Regions from separate parts of the Homo sapiens genome. Here regions 1, 2, 3 and 5 are each linked to region 4. The links are contacts of gene promoters, found by promoter capture Hi-C in blood cells and fetal thymus (Javierre and others, 2016). All regions are on one chromosome and are shown on one strand. Each heading gives the region's core, a stretch centred on a gene start or on the middle of the fragment in contact. The rest is flanking DNA. Distances are from core to core; before and after follow the strand shown. Region 1 overlaps HORMAD2 (HORMA domain containing 2). Region 2 overlaps HORMAD2 (HORMA domain containing 2). Region 3 holds the start of TBC1D10A (TBC1 domain family member 10A). Region 4 holds the start of LIF (LIF interleukin 6 family cytokine). Region 5 overlaps HORMAD2 (HORMA domain containing 2).

What was found. Contacts are between HindIII fragments. The CHiCAGO score rates a contact against its expected background, and 5 or more counts as called.
Region 1: a contact is called between a fragment that was not itself captured here and the fragment with the promoter of LIF in region 4, in 1 of 17 cell types (activated CD4 T cells). The highest score is 5.9, in activated CD4 T cells.
Region 2: a fragment that was not itself captured here is called in contact with the fragment with the promoter of LIF in region 4 in 15 of 17 cell types (M2 macrophages, M0 macrophages, neutrophils and 12 more); the score reaches 19.4 in M2 macrophages.
Region 3: a contact is called between the fragment with the promoter of TBC1D10A here and the fragment with the promoter of LIF in region 4, in 1 of 17 cell types (monocytes). The highest score is 7.0, in monocytes.
Region 5: a contact is called between a fragment that was not itself captured here and the fragment with the promoter of LIF in region 4, in 6 of 17 cell types (neutrophils, activated CD4 T cells, M2 macrophages and 3 more). The highest score is 10.1, in neutrophils.

The regions. Positions count from the first base shown.
Region 1 is chr22:30,152,522-30,155,221 of GRCh38, reverse strand. All of the region lies in intron 10 of HORMAD2 (HORMA domain containing 2), which reads right to left. Among named protein-coding and RNA genes, the nearest start is that of HORMAD2, 73 kb to the right of the region's middle. The HindIII fragment of the contact is 489 bases long and covers 1,067-1,555 here.
Region 2 is chr22:30,118,935-30,121,634 of GRCh38, reverse strand. It overlaps HORMAD2 (HORMA domain containing 2), which reads right to left. Exons shown (of 11, transcript NM_152510.4): 8 at 2,588-2,655; 9 at 1-3. Among named protein-coding and RNA genes, the nearest start is that of HORMAD2, 40 kb to the right of the region's middle. The HindIII fragment of the contact is 2,545 bases long and covers 1-2,532 here.
Region 3 is chr22:30,325,662-30,328,361 of GRCh38, reverse strand. TBC1D10A (TBC1 domain family member 10A) reads left to right here and starts at 1,421. Exons shown (of 9, transcript NM_031937.3): 1 at 1,421-1,689. The coding sequence starts at 1,481. RefSeq lists silencers at 1,169-1,498, 1,799-1,848 and an enhancer at 2,065-2,700. The HindIII fragment of the contact is 3,707 bases long and covers 290-2,700 here.
Region 4 is chr22:30,245,318-30,248,017 of GRCh38, reverse strand. LIF (LIF interleukin 6 family cytokine) reads left to right here and starts at 1,259. Exons shown (of 3, transcript NM_002309.5): 1 at 1,259-1,341. The coding sequence starts at 1,323. It overlaps LIF-AS2 (LIF antisense RNA 2), which reads right to left and starts at 1,808. Exons shown (of 1, transcript NR_148946.1): 1 at 1,025-1,808. The HindIII fragment of the contact is 10,846 bases long and covers 1-2,700 here.
Region 5 is chr22:30,136,424-30,139,123 of GRCh38, reverse strand. All of the region lies in intron 10 of HORMAD2 (HORMA domain containing 2), which reads right to left. It also overlaps the pseudogene RPS3AP51. Among named protein-coding and RNA genes, the nearest start is that of HORMAD2, 57 kb to the right of the region's middle. The HindIII fragment of the contact is 4,090 bases long and covers 1-2,700 here.

The sequences.
Region 1 (2,700 bases), core at 62-2,561, 93 kb after region 4:
CAGACACCACCTTAATCAAGTGACCAAATAAAACATAATTGAAATGGGACAAATCAAAATCATGTGCCACCTGAAGGAAGTAAAGATTACTCAGCACCAATTCTGTGATATTCCTTCTTTCTTTCTTTCTTTTTTTTTTTTTTTTAAAAAAAGCAAGGTCTCACTTTGTCACCCAGGCTGGAGTGTAGTGGTGTGAACATAGCTCTCACTGCAACCTTAAAACTGTTGGGTTCAAGTGATCCTCTTGCCTCAGCCTCTGGAGTAACTAGGACTACAGACACGTGCCACCACACCCAGCTAACTTTTTAAAAAGTTTTAGGAGATGCAGGTCTTGCTGTGTGACCCGGGCTGGTCTTGAACTCCTGGCCTCAGGTGATCCTTCTGCCTCAGTTTCCAAAAGTGCTGGGATAACAAGCATAATCCACCATGCCCAGCCCTATGTTATTCTTTAAAAAGATGCATACCCTGAATCTAATCTTGAGGAAACATCAGACAAATGCAAATTGAAGGACATTCTAAAAAATAAGTGGCCTGTTCTATTAAAACATGTCAAGGTCATGAAAGTCAAGGAAGGACTGAGGACCTGTTCCAAGCTAAGGGAAGCTAAAGAAATTTAACTAAATACAACACATGATTCTAACCTGGATCCTTTTGCCATAATGGATATTACTGGGACAACTGGAAAAACTTGAAAGGAATCTGAGGGTTAGATGACAGTAATGAATCAAAGCTGATTCCTCAGTTTTGATGGTTATATTGTGAATATATAGGAGAATATCCTTGCCTATAGGAATTACATAGTACAGTATACAGGAGTGATAAAGCAAATGGCTCAGAAAATAAAACATGATTTGTGTGTACTTGCAGGTTTTCTGTAAGCTTGAGATTATTTCAAAATAAAAATAAACTTATACAAAAATGTAGATTTTAGAAATAAGTTTTTCCTGTTAATACAATACATATTTTAGTGACAAATATTGTGGAAACTGAAAACACTTATTCTTTTCTAACCTATCTAGTGACTATTCTGAAATGTGTCCATGTGTAAGTGAGGTGTCAAAAAGCTTAGCTTTTTGTAGAAACAGAAAGAAGGCCAGAGAAAATAGAGACGAGGAAGTAAGGGGAAATTGAAAGAAGGTAAGGTCAGAGCCTTGGGCTAGAGCAGATCAGGTATGGCCTTAAAAGCCATAAACAGTGAAGTGACATGAATAGATTGACATCTTTAGAGATGCTTTGGTGAAATAAACTGTGCAAGGGCAAAAATGAAAGCAAGGAGACCACTGGAGAGGTACTGTTTGCTTGGGCCAGAGTGGTAGCAGTGAGATAGTGAGAAGTGGCCAGATTTGAAATATATTTTGAATGGAAAGCTCACTAGACTCACTGATGGACTGGATATAGGTTTTGAGGGAGAAGAACTAAAGATGGCTTTTAGGTTTGAAGCAACTAAGTAAATGATAGTGTCGTTTACTGAGATGGGAAAGACTGAGAAAGTGACTAATGATAGGAAAGTGATAAGAATTATGGCTTGAATAGTAAAGTGGTGGTGATAAAAGCTTGATTAAAGTGGGTTAAAGAGAACAGAAAGCAGGGAATTGGACACAGGAAGCATAGACAATTCTCTTGCAAAATGGATATGATTTGGGCCAATGGAAAGAAAGGCATTCTGGACAAGAGAAAATACACTTGTTAAGATATGGGGGAAGAAATGAACTTGGCCAGTTCTTGTGACAGTGAGAAAACTGACCTAACTCAAGGAAGGGGAAGATGTTGGGTAATAAGACAGATAAGGTGGAGCCAGGCTACAAGCAGCCCGAAAGCCAAGAAAAGGTGTTTAGACTTGATGCTGGAAATAAGACTCATGAGATATTTTTGATTAGGGAAGCGATAGAATAAAAGTCATATTTAAATAACAGTAGATGGCAGTGGTATCTAGGATCCAGGAGGCTGTGGGAGAGCCTCAAGGCTGTGGTAGTAATTCAGATAGGAGAGGATGAAGGTCTGGACTTGAGTTTTGGCAGTAAGAACAGGCTGGAAAGGGAAGGCTTAGGGGAATTCTGATACTTGACTAAATGAGGATAATGCAGGAGAATGATTTCAAGATTCTGAACTTAAGACACTGAGATAAAGGTGGTGCTGAGATGGGGGGAAACTGGGTAGAGAAACTTGTTCTATGTGTGGAAAAGGGAAGGCAGTGGTGAATAAAAAGACGAGCATACTGGATTTGACATGACAGTGTTAACTCAAAGCACAAATGCCCGAAAGAAGGTTAAAGATATAGAACTGGAGCTCTTGGGGATGATCAGGGCTCAAGATAACACATATGGAAGTCGACAGCATACACGTGATGCTTGAAACCCTGAGAATGGATGAATCTTCCAAAGGAAAGCACATAGAGCTAGAAGAGCATATGATCAAAGATTTTGGGGGATGTTTGGGGATGCCCACAATTAGAGGTGGAAGAAAGAACAAAAGCAAAAGAGGGAAGTGGATGGAAAAAAGATGAGAACAGATGGAAAAAGAATGAGAAGTATATCATAGAAATAAGAAGGACTGTTTTAAAATGAGTATATCATCAATATAAAAAAGATCAAGGTTGGGTGTGATGGTTCACACTTGTAATCCCAACACTTTGAGAGGGTGAGGTGGGAGGATTGCTTGAGCCCAGGAGTTCAAGACCAGCCTGGGCAACATAACAAGGCC
Region 2 (2,700 bases), core at 11-2,510, 130 kb after region 4:
TGACTACACAGAAAAAAAAGCATACTTTTTGATCATATACAATAGTGGCAATCTATCCCAAAAGGAACAAAACTTTTGACTATGTGAGTAAATATAAATTAAACATTAGTATATTTTGAGACTTTTTTAGAATGTAAATTAGGGGAGCGATGGTACTTTTTGCAATGTATATACAAAGAATTTCTTAAGTAGCAAATTCCCTAAAAGCATTTAAAATACGATCTTTTTAAAAATTTGATTTGAAAAAAATCATATACCACAACAGTAAGAACAACGAATTTGGAATTAGGTGACCTGGCATCTAATATCAGCTCTGCTGATAACTAGCTGAATGACCTTGGTCAAGTCATTTAGACACACTCTAGGTCAGTTAGCTCATTTGTGAGATAAGCGTAAAGACATTTCTACAACTCTCAAGCATAAAATCAATCACCAGCTCTGGGACTTTCTACCGTCTGATTATCTCGCAAAAGTATCCCTTCCTCACTCTTGCATTGATTACTACAGTGGCTATCTAACTATTTTTCCTGCTTTCCTTCTTGTCCACACTACAAAATATTCTCCATATCACCGCTGAAATAATATTACTAATAGGAAAATCTGTTCATGTCACCTTCTTACTTAGAATTCTTCTATTATATCCATCAGTTTTCAATCAAATTCAAAGACAGTGTGTATACAATTCCTTTCACAACCCGTCATATCCTCACCTCCATCCTCATCTGCAGCTATTGCCCAGTTTCCTCTCACTCAAAGTATTTGCATATGCTGTTCACTTTGCTTGTACTGTGCTTTTCCACTTTTCTTCCTGACTGTCCTAAATTTATCCTCTAATACCTAGCTCATGCGCAGACTCTTCAAAGAAGTCTTCTCTGATAATACCCTCATCTCATCCTCAGGATAACTATTTGTCCTTCTCTAGACTGTGAGTGGCTATATCTTTCATCTCCACAGTACAGAGTTTGGTGCCCAGCTATTCAATCAACATTTGTTGAATTAATGAATGAATGAACAATTTGGACTAAATTACCTTCCAATTCTAAACTTTGTTCATTTATCTCCAAAGTTTCCTTCCACAATTAGTCTCACATTTGAGTAGTTTCCAGGAGGGACCATGACTATAATATATTTACACATGGCTGTGCACATAGTTAGCTCTTAATATGAAAAATAACCCTAAGTAATTGAAATGTTGGATTTTTCCCTAACTGATCTTTGGAGACAGTGTGAATTCATGAAGCAAACATTTATTAAGTGAATACATTAGCTCCTTTTCCAATTTTGAACAACTTAAAATTCTGCCAACCAGGATTTAACCAATTCAAATGTAGGTAACCAGAATGAAGGGCTATAGATATGTAGCTCATGGGAGCCTCCAGGACACATCAGTAAAATCATATTCAGGACTCCCATTTAAACAAATGCCTATATTTCTTCTCTAGGAAATTAATAATATGCATCACCTTCTCTCCTTAGCATGTGAAAGATTTGGCCATTTTTGTTTTACAGCTTACCTCTTGGCATATGTGCCTTCAGAACAAAAGAGTTTAATCTGGCCATCAGTGTATATTTTTGAGTTTTGGAGAGTAAAGGTAACTTTTTATGTGAGAAAACGTGTATGAAAAGTGCTGCTGTATAAGCTGTAAAGTATTATACAAATGTTAGCTAATAAAAGGTAATATTTTAATTCTCATTTTTGGAACTGATTTTCTCTTCACATTCTAGTGCTGTCTGTAGGTTTTACAAATGGAAGGATAATCAAGGGAGTGAATCTTGGAGAAAAGTCCTCAAGCTCATGGCAAATGATGAGCCAGAGCTAATAGTAGGGAAAATTGAAAATTAGGCCATGTCTCTCATCAGTCTTTCCTTTCAAGGGCATCCATCCCCCTTACTTGGATTCCTCTACTATCCAGAGCTTTTCACCATCATCTGTACCTTCCACTACTGTGCCATCTCATCAGCAATACTTAGCTCTCCATCCCCCCTGGCAGGTCTGAATCCAAAAGCTACTGGGAGAAAAATAAACGTTGCTCTTCAATGTCCTTGTGTTTGCTATTTAACCCATTAGTAACCTAAAACTTGGAATTTTCGACTTCATAAGGAAACTGCAGTGCTTTCTAATCTTTTCATACAAGGACACAAGGAAATGATATTTATATGACATACTGGGGTAAGCAAATGAGAATATTTGTGCATACGGGCAAATAGTCCAAGGGTATTATCTACCCTAGGCACAGGCTGGCTATATCGAGGTGGAAAGGATCGCTATCTAGGCATAGCAGTTGAGAAACTTTGAATTAATGGCTAGACAGAGCCTTATGGAGTTATTCAATCAATAGCGTGTAGGCAACCTTATTGACATAATTTCTACCTTTGTGCTGCATGCCATTTTCTCTATTCCCACCAGCTTAATCCATGGATTTCAGGAATGTAAACAATTGTTGCAGCCCCTTTTTATAATAGTGGTTTTCTGTAGGGTTTGTGGGGAAATGTGTAAAGAAGTATAAGGCCTTTCTCTGGCCTCAAGAAGCTTATGTTTACCTCAATCCTATTTATTTCTCATGTTCATTAAGCAGTTAGATTCTACCTGTCAAAATCCATAGTGGCTCCTTCTTTCGTGTATTTGAATTTGAACTGGTACATCTCAGTCACCTTCTACAAAAACCAAAGGAAATAAAGAAAAAAAAGAATTTAGAAAAG
Region 3 (2,700 bases), core at 172-2,671, 80 kb before region 4:
TCCCTCCAAATATAGGCAGTTGGTAAGAGCTAAGTTCGAATCCTGGCTATATTCACAGCTAATTCTGGGACCTTAGGCAACTGACTTTACCTCAGTCTCCTTAACTGTAAAATGGGACTAATAATGGTGTATACCTCATTGCTAAGAGATTACAAGACATGTTGCAACCAATTTGGAAAACAGTTTGCCAGTTCCTCGAAAGGTTAAACAGTTGCCATATGACCCAGCAATTCCACTCTTCCTTATCTATCCAAGAGAAATGTAAACATAAGGCCCCCACACAAAAGCTTGTACCTGAATGGTCAGAGCAGCATTATTCATAATGGCTAAAAACTAGAAACACGCGAATGACCATCACTGATGAATGGAAAAACAAAATCTGGTATAGTCCCAGCTCCCAGGAGGGGCAGTATAGGTCTTTCATGGCGGTGTGGGCCTATCCCAGGAAAGGGAGGGGTGGAGTCAGACATACCTGGGGCAGATGTGAATCCAGAAGCACTGATACATGCTACAATGTGGATGAAACTTGAAAATGTTCAAGAGAAAGAATCCAGACATAAAAGGCCATATATTGTATAATTCCATTTATATGAAATATCCAGAAAAGGGACATCTATAGAAACAGGAAGCAGATTAGTGGTTGCCAGGGACTGGGGGAGCCAGGATGCGGAGTGACTGCTAATTGGTAGGAGTTTCTTTTTGGGGTGATGAAAATGTTCTAAAATTAGAATGTTGTGATGGCTGCACAACTCTGTAAATATGCTAAAAATCATTGTACACTTTAAACGTGAATTTATGGTATGTTTATGTTCCATAAAACTGCTGGGGAAAAGACTACAGGAGAAAGTAGGTAGAGCTTCGGGCGTGCGTGGCTCAGTAAACGCTGGTGATTATTAATAATTAGGTCTCACGAGGTAATTTAAAGCCCCAGAAGCAGTGAGTGCAATGGGACTGCCAGACTTCTGGCTCAGGCTGGGCCTTTAAGCCGCTCTGCGTCCCTGAACTCACTTGGGCCTCCTCAGAGTTCCTCATAAATGAATGGGGCAAACAATCCCTACCACGTCCTTGGGGTCTCGCAGGGAGCGGGGCTCAGGAGGCAGATGAGGAATCCATGGAGGAAGCCCTGGGCCTCCGGCTCGCGCTCTGCAGTAGGTGACAGGCCCCGCTTGGAGCCAACCCGGAAAGGCCCGAGCTCGTCCAGGTGAGTTCTTGTGATTGGCAGCCCGGAGGAGGGCGGGGAGGGCTGCGGTGACGGCTGCCCCGCCCCCTCACTTCGGGCTTGTTGGCGCCCGCCGGGGGAGGGTGGGCGGGGCCCGGGGTCCGCGGCGCCCATTGGGCGTGGGGGGAGAGCTCCGGGGTGGGCCTGGAGCCCCGCCCCCCGGCCTTGCGGCGGCCAATAGGCGCCGCGCGTGGGCGGGGCGTCGGCGGCAGCAGGGCGGCTGAGGTGGCCGCTGGAGCTCAGGCGGCGGGCGCGGCTGGGATGGCGAAGAGCAACGGAGAGAATGGGCCGCGCGCGCCCGCGGCCGGGGAAAGCCTGTCGGGAACCCGGGAGAGCCTGGCCCAGGGCCCCGACGCCGCAACCACCGACGAACTCAGCTCTCTCGGGTCTGACTCGGAGGCCAACGGCTTCGCCGAGCGCCGCATCGACAAGTTCGGCTTCATCGTGGGCTCGCAGGGCGCCGAGGGCGCGTGAGTAGCGCCGGGGGTCGGGACTGAGCGCGCCACCCACGCGAGGGGCCTCGACACGGACGGAGGCGCCCTCGGGACTTGCCGACACGTCCCCCTCCCAGGCAGGGACCACTAATCCCCGTTCCCTCCCCTGCCCCACCCCCACCACCCCTGCCTTCCTAGACCCGCCCCCTTCGCAGTCCTACTTCCGACCCAGGGGGCGGACGGGCCCACACCTCCACCCGCCACCTCCACCCTCCGGACAGACTGACCCGCTCCCAGGAAGGACCGACTGTGCCCTCCTTCCAGCCGTGGAACAGAATGACAGACTGCCCCAAACCCACCCCTGCCGCCAAGACCTTAGGGATGATTGTTTCTGCCACCCCGACAGGCTCCCAGATGGCTGGCGCCCCCCTCCATAGACACTCATTCTCCATCTTTCCCCCTCCCACAAACCCACAGACGCCCTTGTCTCCCCGCCTCACTGCCCCCACACCAGGAGACCTCAGACCGACTTCAGGACTGACTGCCCCGCCCCCACCCCTTCCCAGGACAGACTGACCCTTTCCTCGAGGCATACAGACCTCTGGATGGACAGACATTGGTCACCTCCCTCCCCTCAGCTCCATCCTGGGACAGACAGTCCCTTCTCCTCATGGAAGGGTCGGAGAAGGGCCCCCTATCCGCTCATACACAGCTTCCTCCACTGGCACTGGCAACAGGTGGGCAGGTACTCCCCCTTCCCAGCACGTACAGGGCGACAGGGAGCCCCACCACTAGGACAGACCATCAGCTCCAGCAGCCACAGGAGCCAGTAGATGGGCTCTGTGTATGTCCTGTGTATGTATGCGCCTCCTCCCAAGGGCAGATCTTGGGCGTGGGACGGGGGCAGGCAGGGAGACAGCAGGGTCCCTGCTCATATTAGCACCCCCCGATGTCCTATCCCGAGAGCACCCAGACACCCAGCTAGCAGACAGAGAAATGTGGGGCAGTGGAACAGCACCTTGCCTCCAAGCTGGGCCCCATGTTGCC
Region 4 (2,700 bases), core at 10-2,509:
AAGGGCTGGGAAGGGGCCACAGGGGACTAAATCATCTCCTGGTACTGGGGGTCCCCTGGCAGCTTTAGGGACGGCATGGCCCCAGACGCGTGGCCATGCTGTCTGGCCGGCATTCCCGCATCTCATAGGGTGTATTTATTTTCACTTTTCTGTTGCATTTCTTGGAGGTGTCCCTGTGCTCATTTTGCCCGGCTCCCCACTGCTCCTTTCTGCCCTTCCTCATTCACAAATCGCCTGGCCTCAGAAGACGCCAGAACATGTGACACTGCCTTAGAGCCTCTAGAAGCACTTTTTGGGGACCTCCATCATTCTCTGAGGCTGGGCTCAAAGGGGCTTCCAAGGCAGGTCTGGAAGGGACCAGCCACTTCTCAGTTTCCCCAACCATCAATCAGCACCCGGAGGAGGAAACTGGGGTACGATTTCGCCAAGCCTCTCTCAGTCCTGCTTCAGAATGGAAATGCTGGACCGCCTTCCCAGAAGCACCTTCCCAGAGTGTCCCGACAGAACTGAGTCAGTCACCCCTACCCCCATGTCTTCCTAGCCCCTTCCCCAGCCTCACAGGTACAGTGGTCAGCAGGGCGAGTGCACTGGTGGTGTCTGGAGGCCTGACCCTCTGGGGCCCTGGGCAACGTGTTCCCCTCGGAGCCCCTTGGGGCCCAGTGGCAATGTGCAGATTGGAGGAGGCTACCTCTGGGGTGGCTTCCAGCGCCCATGTTCAGTTCCACTTTATGACCGTCTAAAGTCCACGCCGGCCCCGGCCCCTCCTCCTGGAGCCTCCTTCTCAGCCAAGCCCTAGCCCTCCTCCTCCCACTGCCCCCCTAAAGCCCCCCAACCAGGGGGCACAGGGGCCAGTCTCCATCTGCTAGTCCAGACTCGCTACCTCCCCAAACCCAGGTGAGTCAGGGCCGTCTGGGGCGCCCACTGCTGGGACCCCTGCTGACTCGGCCAGGGGCCCCCTCCTGGCGATGCCCATCTTCAGACAACTCCCGGGACAAGCCAGGCAGGAAAACCACAGGGCGTTTTGTCGAAGGCTTCATTATAATTTTATCAATCAAATTCTTAGAAGAGGGAAAAAGTCTGTTCTCCCCACCCTCCCCCCTCACTCGTCCCCCCCCTTCACTCTCACTTTCTTCCATTCATAATTTCCTATGATGCACCTCAAACAACTTCCTGGACTGGGGATCCCGGCTAAATATAGCTGTTTCTGTCTTACAACACAGGCTCCAGTATATAAATCAGGCAAATTCCCCATTTGAGCATGAACCTCTGAAAACTGCCGGCATCTGAGGTTTCCTCCAAGGCCCTCTGAAGTGCAGCCCATAATGAAGGTCTTGGCGGCAGGTAAATACACCCGCCCCGCGCCGGCTTCGCGTCCCCGCTGCGGGGCGCGGCGGCAACTTGGGGCGCTTGGCAGCGCGAGCCGGACGCCCACCCGCCGCAGACACACGAACACTTGGGGCGCCCGCGCAGCCACCGGAGGCGCTGGGTGGCGGCCCGGAGCGAGCGCGGGCACATGGTCCCAAGCACCGCACGCCCCGCGGCAGGTTGGCGGCGAGGGAGGGGGCGCCGAGCCTTCCTCCTCCTCCTCTTCTTCCCCCTCTCCTTCTCCTCCTCCTCCTCCTCGCTCCGGACACTCGCTGGCTGCTCTTCCCTCTGCGCTTTCTCCCAGATTCACTCTCCCTCTCTCTTTTTCTTTTCTTTCTTTCTTTCCGCTTTCTCCTTTCCAACCGCGGTCCCGGGCTGCTCCCAGGGAGGGGCGCGGGCGGCGAGCAGCTTGCAAACTCCGGCCTGGGACGGGAGCAGGTGCCGCCTCCATCTGCTGGTGTCTGGAAGCGTGTGGTCTGCGCTAGGTGAGATATAGGGGTGTGGCCCCCCTCCCGCAGCCACCCCGGGGCCTCAGCACTGCCTTGGGATGCTGGGACGAACAGGGGACCCAGGAGAAGTGAACTTGAGGAGGCCCCTGTCCCCGCTGTTCCAGCATGGGGGATCCGGGGGAGGTCTCCAGCCTCACTCGCCCGCTGACCCCGGCCCCCACCATCTTCAGGTGCCCTTCTGCAGAGCCCTGGAAAAGCGTCTAAGGGGGCCTGGGGGGAGTCGGGAGAACAGGCCCCCCTGGGGGAGGGGCAAACCAGGACATGTCGGGACAGCTCCCAGCTCTCCTGTCACCTTTCACTTTCCTTCCTCCCCGCCCACCCGACTGCCTATGACCTTTTGCCTTTTCTCTCTCCTGGTGCACCATTTCCTCTCCCTCCCTGAGCCGGTGTGTGTGTGTTAGGAGGGAGGGGAACCCCTGGGACAAGGGACAGCGGATGAGTCGGGAGAAGGCATGGAGTCAGGGGCTGTCCGGAGCTGGGGGAACAGAGAGTTTTGAATGATGATTTGGGGATGGAGAGTGGGGACAGCCAGGCAGAAATGGGGTGAGCTTGAGTGAGATAGGGGACACTAGGGAAGGAAGAGATAGAGGATGATGGGGGCGGGGGCAGAATTGGGGGCAATTGGCCCAGGGAGCCAGAATCAAGTGGCAGGTTTGGGAGGGAGATGAGGGTCAACCGAGGACTCCTCCCCACTCCCCCATGCCCCGTGGCCCCCATGGGTGCCTGGCTTCGGAGATTTGGGCTGCAATGGGCCAGTGAGTGGGAAGCGCTGCTGAGGAACCTGGGCCACCACGGGAGGTGGGAAGAGAGGGGTCTCCTTTCTCCT
Region 5 (2,700 bases), core at 15-2,514, 110 kb after region 4:
CCAGTCTGAAGGCCAACAGGCTAGAGACCCAGGAGAGTCAATGGTGCAGATGAAGTCTAAGGCAATCTGCTGGAGCATTCCCTCCCGCTCAGGGAGGCCAGTCTTTTTGTTCTATTCAGGCCTTCAACAAATTCAATGAGATCCACACACATCATGGAGTGTTAGTTTTACTTTACTCAAAGCAACCTGCTTAACTTAAAGTTTACTGATTTAAATGTTAATTTCATCCAGTAGCACCCTCCAAGTTGACACATAAAATTAACTATCCTACCAAGGTTGTAGAATACAAAATCAGTATACAAAATTCAAAAGTATTTCTATATACCTGCAATGAATAATACAAAGATGAAAATTTATTCCCAAGTATTTTATTCTTTTCATGCTATTGTGCAGTTCACATACTATTCACATACTATTATGAACAGTATGAAAAGAATGCTCATGAATAAATTTAACAAAATAAATACAAAATTTATAATCTAAAAACCACAAAACATGGCTGAAAGAAATTAAAGAAAATCCAAATAAATGAAAATGGAATGGAAGACAATATTTATAAATTGTATATCTGGTAAGGAATCTACCCAGAATATATAAAGAACTCTTACACCTCAGTAATAAAAGGACAAATGACCGTTTTTAAAATGGGCAAAGGAAGCTGGATGCAGAGGCTCATACCTGTAATTCTTGCATTTTAGGGGGCCAAGGTGAGAGGAATGCTTGACTCCAGGAGTTCGAGACCAGCCCAGGAAACATGGCGAGACCCCATCTCCACAAAAATATTTTAAAAATTACCCAGGCATGGCGGTGCACACCTATGGTCCCAGCTTCTCTGTTGCCTAGGCAACAGAGCAAGACTCTGTCTCAAAAAAAAAAAAAATGGGCAAAAGATCCGAATATACATGTCTCCAAGGAATATATATAAATGGATAAGAAGCACATGAAAAGATGCTTGACATCATTAGTCATTAGAGAAATACAAATTAAAACCACAATGAGGTACCACTTACTTTGCACCCACTAGGATGGCTAGAATCAAAAAGTGAGACAATACCAAGTGCTGGTAAGGATGTGGAGAAATTGGAACCCTCATACACTGATGTTGGGAATGTAAAATGGTACAGCCACTTTGGAAGAATTTTGGAGTTCTCCAAATGATTAAACACATATGACCCAGCAATTCTATTCCTAGGTATATATCCAAGAAAATTAAAAATAGATACTCAAAAAGAACTTATATACAAATGTTTATAGCAGCATTATTCACAATAGCCAAAAGGTTGAAAGAACCCAAATGCCCATCACTAATACATGGATAGACAAAATGTGGTGTATCCGTACAATGGAGTATTATTCAGCCATAAAAAGGGATGAAGTAATGACACATGCCATACATGGATGAACTTTGAAAACATGATGCTGCCCTTTTGGCTGAAAAGCACATGGTAGTTGGCAAGAACAAGCACTTTATGAAAGGTGGCAAAAGCAAGCCAAGAAGAAAGTGGTTGATCCATTTTATTTCTTTCTTTCTCTCCCTCCTTCTTTTCTTTCTTTCATTTTTTATTTCTCTCTGTCTCTTCCTTTCCTTCTTTCCATTCCCCCTCCCTCCCTCCCTCCCTTCCTTCCTTCCTTTTTTGAAACAGGGTCTTGCTCTGTAGCCCTGGTTGCAGTGCAGTGGTGTGATCAACAGCTCACTGCAGCCTTGACCTCCTGGGCTCAAATACCTTGACCCATTTTCTAAGAAAGATTGGTATGATGTGAAAGCACCTGCTATGTTCAGTATAATAACTATGGGAAAGACACTCATCGCCAGGACTCAAGGAATCAAAATTGCATCTGATGGCCTCAAGGGTCATGTGTTTGAAGTGAGTTTGTCTGATGTGCAGAATGATGAAGTTGCATTTAGAAAATTCAAGCTGATACTGAAGATGTTCAGGGCAAAAATGCCTGATTAATTTCCATGGCATGGATCTTATCTGTGACAAAATGTGTTCCATGGCTAAAAAATAGCAGACCATGATTTAAGTTCACATTGATGTCAAGACTATCAATGATTATTTACTTTGTCTGTTTTGTGTTGATTTTACTAAAAAATGCAACAATTACACATGGAAGACTTCTTACAATTGACACTAACAGGTCTGCCAAATCCAGAAGAAGATGATGGAAATCATGACCCAAGAGGTGCAGACAAATGACTTGAAAGAAGTGGTCAATAAATTGATTCCAGACAGCACTGGAAAAGACATAGAAAAGGCTTGCCTATCTGTTTATCCTCTCCATGGTGTCTTCATTAGGAAAGTAAAAATAAAGAAGCCCAAGTTTGAATTGGGAAAACTCATGTAGCTTCATGGTGAAGGTAGTAGTTTTGAAAAAGCTACCAAGGATGAGAAAGGTGCTAAAATTGAATGAGCTGATGGATATGAACCATCGGTCCACGAATCTGTTTAACATTCAGACTTTTAATAGTGTCAAATTAAAAGCCCTATTTGTGGAAAAAAAAAAAGAAGAAGAAAAGAAAACACAATGTTAAGTGAAAGAGGTCAGTCACAAAATTCATCATAGTATATGACTTCATTTATTTGAAATATATCATAATAGGCGAATCTGGAGACAGAAAATAGATTAATGATTATTTAGGACTGGGGGAGAGGAGAAATAAGACAGGAAGGTGAAAGCTAAAGAATACGGGTTTTTTTC